3 separate regions of the Homo sapiens genome follow, and regions 1 and 2 are each linked to region 3. The links are contacts of gene promoters, found by promoter capture Hi-C in blood cells and fetal thymus (Javierre and others, 2016). All regions are on one chromosome and are shown on one strand. Each heading gives the region's core, a stretch centred on a gene start or on the middle of the fragment in contact. The rest is flanking DNA. Distances are from core to core; before and after follow the strand shown. Region 1 overlaps REDIC1 (regulator of DNA class I crossover intermediates 1). Region 2 overlaps ABCD2 (ATP binding cassette subfamily D member 2). Region 3 holds the start of REDIC1 (regulator of DNA class I crossover intermediates 1).

Region 1 (2,700 bases), core at 188-2,687, 33 kb after region 3:
ACAGAATTATCTTTTAGTTTCACAAGTCTTTTATTTTTATATTTTTAAAAATTGCATTGAATTCTGCTTTTCTATTTATTATTTTCTTTTGTCTGCTTATTTTGCATTTAATTTCCTCTGCGTTTTCTAGTTTTTTTAAGAGGTAAGGTCATTGGTTTGAAACCATTCTTCTTTACTAATATAGGCATTTTAGGGCTATAAATTCTCTACTAACTGCTGTTTTTGCTGTATCTTACAAATTTTGAAATATTATGTTTTCATTTTTATTCACATCAAAATACTTTTTTTTTTTGAGACAGTGTCTAGCTCTGTTGCGCAGACTGGAGTGCAGTGGTGTGATGTTGGCTCACTGCAACCTCTGCCTCCCGGGTTCAAGTGATTCTCCTGCCTCAGCCTCTTAAGTAGCTGGGATTACAGGTGCCTCCCACCACGCCTGGCTAAGTTTTAAAAATATTTTTAGTAGAGTTGGGGTTTCACCATGTTGGCCAGACTGGTCTCGAACTCCTGACCTCAAGTGATCCACCTGCCTCAGCCTCCCAAAGTGCTGGGATTATAGGCTTGAGACACCATGCCCAGCCTGGATCAAAATACATTCTAATCTTTCTTTGGATTTCTGTTTCAATCCATGAGTTATTTAGAAATTTCGTATTTGGTTCCCAGAAACTAAGACTTTCCCATTATCTTTATGAATTAATTCCTTTGTGGACAAGGAACATACTTTGTATGATTTGATCCTTCCAAATTTATTCAGACTGGTATAGTGGCTAAGAATATGGTTTACATTTAATATGACAATGTATAGGTTTGGATTTAAGTCTGTCCTCTTGCTGTTTGCATTTTGTCCATCCCTTTGCCTCTTTTTCTACTTTTATTTAAGTATTTTTATGACTTCTTTTCATCTCTTTGTTTATTAGCTATAATTCTGTTTTATTATTGATTGCTTTAGACTTTATCAGATATATATTAATGTATCACAGATTATCTTCAAGTTATAGTATCAAGTATAGTATAAGAATCTTACAGTAGTATACTTTTTATTTCTTCTCTCCTTTGGCCTTTGTGTTATATTCGTACATTTATTTATGTGTATGTTATAAACCCAATAATGCATTGTTGTTTTGTTTTAAAGAAAGCTAAATAAGAAAATATGTTTCTTATATTTAAGCACGTAGTTGTTATTTTTAGTGGTCTTCATTATTTTGTGTAGATATAGATTTCCATCTGGTGTCATTTTCTGTTTGAAAGACTTAACATTTCTTCTATTGTAGATCTGCTGGTGATTAATGCTCTAATCTTTGTATATTTGCAAATTTCTGTTTTTGAAAGATGTCTTTTGACTTGGTGTAGTTTCCAACTAGAAGTTTGCTGTCATTATCTTAATATCTGTATATATAATATAGTTTTTATCTTTGTTTTTGTGATTTTTCTGTCATGATTTTTTAAACATTGATTTCTATTCTTTGATTAAGATATTAATTTTCTTTCTATTTCTTATGTTTGGGTTTTCTTGATCTTGGATTTGTGGACTTATTTTTATCAAAAATTTTTATCCATTATTTCTTCAAATATTTTTTCTGACTCCTTTCCTTCTCCTTGGGGGACTCAAATTGGTAAATTAGTCTACTTGAAATCTCAGTTTACTGGTGCTCTGTTTTTTCCAGTCTTTTTTCTCTCATTGTTTTATTTTATGTAGATTATATTACTATATCTTCCACGTCCATAATTGTATCTTCCGTGTGGTCTTATCTGCTGGTAATCCCATCCAGTGTAATTTTCATCTCTAGAACTTTGATTTACCTTTTCTTTTTTATCTTCCATGTATCTATTAGGCATGTTCAGTATTTCCTCTGTCTCCTTGAATACAGGAAATATAGTTATGATAACTTTTAATGTACTTGTCTACGAATTCCATTATTTTTGTCATTTCTTGATCTGTTTTTAATAATTGATTTTGCTTCTCATTATAGATCTTCTCTTTTTTGCATTCCTGGTAATTTTGTTGGATTCTATACATTATGAATTTTTATTTTTATGGCTGCTGGACATTTTTATTTTCCTGCACATCATCCTTGGAAACACTATGGTACTTGGAAACACTATGGTACTTGGAAACCCTATGATCTTATTGAGGCTTGCTTTTAAATTTTGTCAAGCAGGACCAATAAGCCTTCAGTTTGTAGTTAATTTTGCTCCACTGCTGAGGCAATACCCTTCTGAATACTTTCTTGATCCCCCTTGAATTATGAAATTTTCCACTCTAGAGGGTGGAATCAAAATTTTCCCCCCTAGTGAGCTCCTGAGATTGTTCTATTTTTCTTACCTTGGGTGGTTCTTTTCACAGCCTTCGGCAATTACTTCACATGCATGTGCCGGTTAGTATTTAGTTGAACACTTGAGAACACTCTGGATCTCTGGAGGTCTTACTCTCTGAAACACTCTCCTTTATGGTACTCTAACTTGTGAACTCTATCCTCTGCAATCTCCCTGGATCCCCAGGTGTTTCCTCAACAAAGGGAGCCTCAGTTGGGCTCTGATTAGGTTCTCTTTCCTTGTTCTGTGGCTTGAATGTTCTCTCCAGACAATAACCTAGGAACAATCACAGAGTTCTCCTCATTTGTTTTCTCTCTCTCAGGGATCATTATCTTGCTCACCTGGTCTCCTCTGACTGAAAACTGTTGTCCATATATTTTGTTCTTTTTT
Region 2 (2,700 bases), core at 169-2,668, 40 kb before region 3:
TTGCAAATACTTTCTCCCATTGTGTAGGTTGTCTGTTTACTCTGTTGATAGTTTCTTTTGCTGTGCAGAAGCTCTTAAATTTAATTAGATCTCACTTGTCAATTTTTGCTTTCATTGTGATTGCTTTTGGTATCTTTGTCATGAAGTCTTTGTCTGTTTCCATGTCCAGGATAGTTTTGCCTAGGTTGTCTTCCAGGGTTTTTATAGTTTGGGGTTTTACATTTAAGTCTCTAATCCATCTTGTGTTGATTTTTGTATATGGTATAAAGAAGGGGTCCAGCTTCAGTCTTCTGCATATGGCCAGCCAGTTATCACAGCACCATTTATTGAATAGGGAGTCTTTTCCCCATTGCTTGTTTTTGTCAGCTTTGTTGAAGATTAGATGGTTGTAGATGTGCGGCCTTATTTCTGTGCTCTCCATTCTGTTTCATTGGTCTCTGTGCCTGTTTTTGTAACAGCACTATGCTGTTTTGGTTACTGTAGACTTGTAGTATAGTTTGAAGTGGGGCAGCATGATGCCTCCAGCTTTGTTCCTTTTGCTTAGGATTACCTTGGCTATTCAGGCTCTTTCTTGGTTCCAAACAAATTTTAAAATAGTTTTTTTCCTAGTTCTGTGAAGAATGTCATTGGTAGTTTGATAGGAATAGCATTGAATATGTAAATTGCTTTGGGCAACATAGCCATTTTAATGATATTGATTCTTCCTATCCATGAACATGGGATGGTTTTCCATTTGTGTCTTCTCTGATTTCTTTGAGCAGTGTTTTGTAATTCCCATTGTAGAGATCTTTCACCTTCCTGGTTAGCTGTATTCCTAGGTATTTCATTCTTTTTGTGGCAATTGTGAAGGGGATTGCCTTCCTGATTTGGCTGTTCGCTTGGCTGTTGTTGGTGTATAGCAAAGTTAGTGATTTTTGTATGTTGATTTTGTACACTGCAACTTTGCTGAAGTTGTTTATCAGCTGAAGGAGCTTTGAGCTGAGACTATGGGGTTTTCTAGATATAGAATCATGTGTCTGCAAGCAGGGATAGTTTGACTTCCTCTCTTCCTATGTGAATGCCCTTTATTTCTTTCTCTTGCCTGGCTTATCTAGTTAAAGTGTGATTATTATTATTAAATTATTTGAAAGTATCACTAAACACAGAAAGAGTATTATTAGACAATAATTCTATTTTAAGCTTATATGTACAAATGTTATTTATACTCTTTCAAAAATGTTTTATGCTGAAAAACCACAATACAGAAGTTTCTAACTTTAATTACCTGTGTGCTGCTTGAGAGCAAAAAAAGATACTGGTCAGATTGTGGGTCTGAAAACAAAAAAAGTTCTGTGGTATCTACTTCTCAAATTATTTAATTTAATGTGAGCTGAGAGCTTGTAAGGCAAATATGTCTGTCATAGACTTTACATACATCTAGACTGACAATGGCCTCAGGGACTTTGTACATTCGAATATAAAAGAAAAAAACTGTTTTTAAATGTTAGCTGCACTGACATGGAGACTTAATAAAAACTTAGTGTGTTGCATTAAACACAACACAAGCAGAAAAAGAAATGTAAATAATGGAACAGCAATAAAACTCCATCTTTACACTTATGTGCTTATTTCCGATTATAGCATACATTCAAATTAAACCACAGACTAAATATATACCCAAGCTTACTTTTTAAAAGTGAAGTTAAATGCATTAGAAAAGAATGATAGACTTTACCTCCTTCTCTTTGAACTATGTGATAGAGATGGACATTGTGTAGGATACGTTCCAGATCTTGGTCTGTATAACCTTTATCATGCATATCATCCACTGAATCAGGGTAAATGACTTGATCCCGAAGACTTCCAAGAGACATATATGGCCTTTAAAACACCAAGCACACAAGAATCCTAGTGGAAAGTCATGATAACTTACTCAGTGTGACAACTTGGTAGTCTGAAAACATCAGTGAAGACTTTAAACACTACATTTCCAGGATGATATTTGTTACCTGGCGATGAGTACTTCTCCCTCAGGCACTGCTAAACAATACCGTTATGTTTACATAAAAACTTACTGACACATGGACACAAGAAAAGCTTCTCCAAGAAATCATCTGACATTTTCTTTTTCTAAAAAATTCTATTTTATTTTATATTTTGTAGAGACAGGGTCTTGATATGTTTTCCCAGGCTAGTCTCAAACACCTGCCTCAAGTGATTCCTCCTAACTTGGCCTCCCAAAGCACTGGGATTACAGTTGTGAGCCATAGAACCCAGCCACATTTAACATTTTCAGCAGGGAAATATTGTATATACTTTGTTTCACTGTATTTGATAAAGATTGCTTCTGTAATTCATCTATAATTATTTGGGTGACATATTATACAATTTGGGTTTCGACCCAGCAATGTGAACAAACAAAACAAAAAAATTTAATTCATAGTAAGAAAAACACAAATTAAAACTACATTGAGTTTCTTACTAATCAGATTGGCAAAAATTCAACAACTTGGTAACTCACTCCACTGGCAGGCCTATGGGTAAGGGAATGTTCTCACACTACAGTGAAAATGCAGAATGGTACAACTCTTACAGAGGGGATTTGGCAAACTGACAGAGCATTTGTTGCCCTTTGACCTCCTTCTGGGAATTCACTCTGAAAATATACTTCTAAAAATACAAAAAAAGATGCATGAGGTTATTCATTACAGCTTATTTGTA
Region 3 (2,700 bases), core at 60-2,559:
TTAGTCAATATGTTTTAAAATGTTGAAAGTAGGAAAGGCTGATACACAGGGCCATTGCTTCTTCCTTGCCTGTATGGTTTTGTTACTGAAAAAACAACTCCATGTCAAAGTCTGATATTCTCGGAAATGCTGAATTCACTTGGTCTAATTCAATTTTAGATACACCTTGGTGAATTTTGTCATAAAAAACAGGATTTTTGTGATTAAACAAGATATCTACCCTGGGACATAATCCTATTCTAAGTACTATTTTCCAATGACTTAACAAAAAATCGATTATTATATATCAAATTGTGAAATCTTCCCCAGGTTATGTTCTGGAAAAAAACATGGCAATTTAAAAAAATGTAATTTGTGCATGTATTTGGAAGAAGAGATGCCTAGTTTCTAACCAAAATAATATAGGACAGTTTGTAAGATAATTGTTTTGTAAGGATATACAAACTTAATACAGAAACAAATAGCATAATTCAATTTTTGTTTTGAGATTTTTTTTTCAGTAAGGATTTTAACATCTTTGGACTTTTACATCTAATTAAGTTTTGATCAAGCTCTTTTTTTTCCTTTCTTTCTTTTTTTTTTTTTTTTTAAGAGACAGAGTCTGCTCTGTCGCCCAGGCTGGAGTCTCTCGACTCACTGCAACCTCTGCCCTCCTGGGTTGAAGCAATTCTCCTGCCTCAGCCTCCTGAATAACTGGGGCTACAGGCGCGTCCCACCACGTCCCACTAATTTTTTGTATTTTTAGTAGAAACGGAGTTTCACCGTGTTAGCCAGGATGGTCTTGATCTGCTGACCTCGTGATCTGCCCACCTTGGCCTCCCAAAGTGCTGGGATTATAGGCGTGAGCCACTGCGCCCGGCCTGATTTAAGCTCTCTTAGCAACTCAATGCACAGAATGGTAACTTACTACAGCGCTATGTTTCTTATAAACACCTGTTTACGGAGTATTAAAACTGCACATGAAGGATATTTAAGGAATTTGGGTATGGGGTAATAAATGGGAAGGGAAACATCATTTTTAGGGTTAGCGATCCTTAACTGTGTCCTTGCCTTCTTTTTCTTTCTCAAGTCTGGTCTCTGACTCGAAAAAGACGTCAAAGACCTGTCAGAACTAGATAAAATTATGATGGAGGTGTTTTGAAACACTAATCCTGTGGCCCCTGTCAAAAATTTAGGCTTTCATTTATTTAGGCCTGCCTTGCCTCAGCGATTAAAACGATGTCAGCCAGGTCGGCTGCTTTGCCGCAGCGTCCCCTTGCGGCCCTATCAGGACCGGAAGGAACACGCAGAAGCCGCAGAGGCTGTTGGGAGGTTGGGCCTCAGGCGGTGGACCAGAAGGAGCTTACTCGGGCCCTGACGTTGTCAGGAGGCCCTGGGGGATCCTGCTGAAGCTGCGATTTGGCGCAGAGCTGAGATGTCTGAGCTCTAGACACAGGGACCTCAGTGTCAAAAGATTTGGGAAGATGAATTGGGTCGGGGGGTCCCGGTAAGTTGTGCAGCTGGAGTTTGAGGCTGGGACATTCATTCCTACGACTCCTCTTTCTAGTTCCTGGCGGAGAGGTCACAGCCTTAGCTGGAAAGAACTTGGTAGGAAAGGGTCTTTTTATTGTTATCCAAATCGGGTTGGAGACTCTAGAACCATATCTCTACTCCTCAGACAAAAGTAACTCAGCTTCTCCCCACTCACTGCCTTTACAAAGGCTTCACCTGTGGGGGCCACTGTGAGTAACCTTCCCTGCTGCCCCTCCTCCCCTTCTCCATGTCCTATGCTCTGTTACTGTAATGAGGCCTTTTAGCACCTGAGCCCTCCCCTACTGCCTTCTTTCCGTGTCTACACCTCTTTTAGGTTCTTCTGAGTTGATATATAGTCTTTGCATGAATTTGGAAATTGTGAAACAGCCCAGTCCCAGCTGCACTTAAATCAATGGCAGGGCACCAGTATCACCATAAATCCAAATTGTAGTTTGTATTTTAAGGGGAAGTAAAGTGAACCGTTTTTACTTGAATAACTTGAGCGAATTTGCCATTTATTTTGTATTTAGGATTGATCACATAAAGCGTGATAGATTGAAAATTTAGTGTTATATAACCTATTCATTGTTATTGACCTTAAAGTCCAGCTGGGTGGAAATCATGTGGGCCTGTAATTTCATTTGATCAAAATTCTTGATGAGAAGAATTGTTTTGATTGAAACAAGAAGCCATTACATGTAATTTTTTTGTCACAAGTAGACCCAGGACAGTAATTATATGTTAGATTATAATGCGTTTGAATTCTAAAGAATTTATCGGAGGAAAGACAGCTTTTGTATTCACTAAGTATTGTAGCTATGCCTGATAATTTTAGCATGCACTTTTATCCTGTTGAATATGCTAGCATTGTATTTTAGAAATTTACCTGAATTACTTCTGGCTAGTGTTCTGGCAGCAGACGTACTCTGGAGAAAAGTGAAAATTTACTTACAGGCTTCAACAGGATTTAGTTGATACATGCTTATAATGTGATCTTTTTGAATTTAGTATTCTTTAAAATATTAAATAGGATTATATGAAATAATTTTACAAATGCTTAGCACTATTAAAATGTAGATGTTGCTATTATTCTGTCATATATCACAAACTTTTATGGCTATTTTGGGAGTAATATTTTAGTTGCTACTGGGAGGATGCAAAAACAATATACTGCAGGAAACATGTAAC

What was found. The method cuts DNA at HindIII sites, captures the fragments that hold promoters and counts their contacts. A CHiCAGO score of 5 or more calls a contact.
Region 1: a fragment that was not itself captured here is called in contact with the fragment with the promoter of REDIC1 in region 3 in 3 of 17 cell types (naive CD8 T cells, non-activated CD4 T cells and total CD8 T cells); the score reaches 6.3 in naive CD8 T cells.
Region 2: a contact is called between a fragment that was not itself captured here and the fragment with the promoter of REDIC1 in region 3, in 3 of 17 cell types (non-activated CD4 T cells, naive CD8 T cells and total CD8 T cells). The highest score is 5.9, in non-activated CD4 T cells.

The regions. Positions count from the first base shown.
Region 1 is chr12:39,657,807-39,660,506 of GRCh38, forward strand. The region is part of intron 7 of REDIC1 (regulator of DNA class I crossover intermediates 1); the gene reads left to right. Among named protein-coding and RNA genes, the nearest start is that of REDIC1, 33 kb to the left of the region's middle. The HindIII fragment of the contact is 4,797 bases long and covers 1-2,700 here.
Region 2 is chr12:39,584,438-39,587,137 of GRCh38, forward strand. It overlaps ABCD2 (ATP binding cassette subfamily D member 2), which reads right to left. Exons shown (of 10, transcript NM_005164.4): 7 at 1,715-1,860. Among named protein-coding and RNA genes, the nearest start is that of ABCD2, 34 kb to the right of the region's middle. The HindIII fragment of the contact is 482 bases long and covers 1,178-1,659 here.
Region 3 is chr12:39,624,874-39,627,573 of GRCh38, forward strand. REDIC1 (regulator of DNA class I crossover intermediates 1) reads left to right here and starts at 1,310. Exons shown (of 13, transcript NM_001031748.4): 1 at 1,310-1,486. The coding sequence starts at 1,464. The HindIII fragment of the contact is 5,259 bases long and covers 1-2,700 here.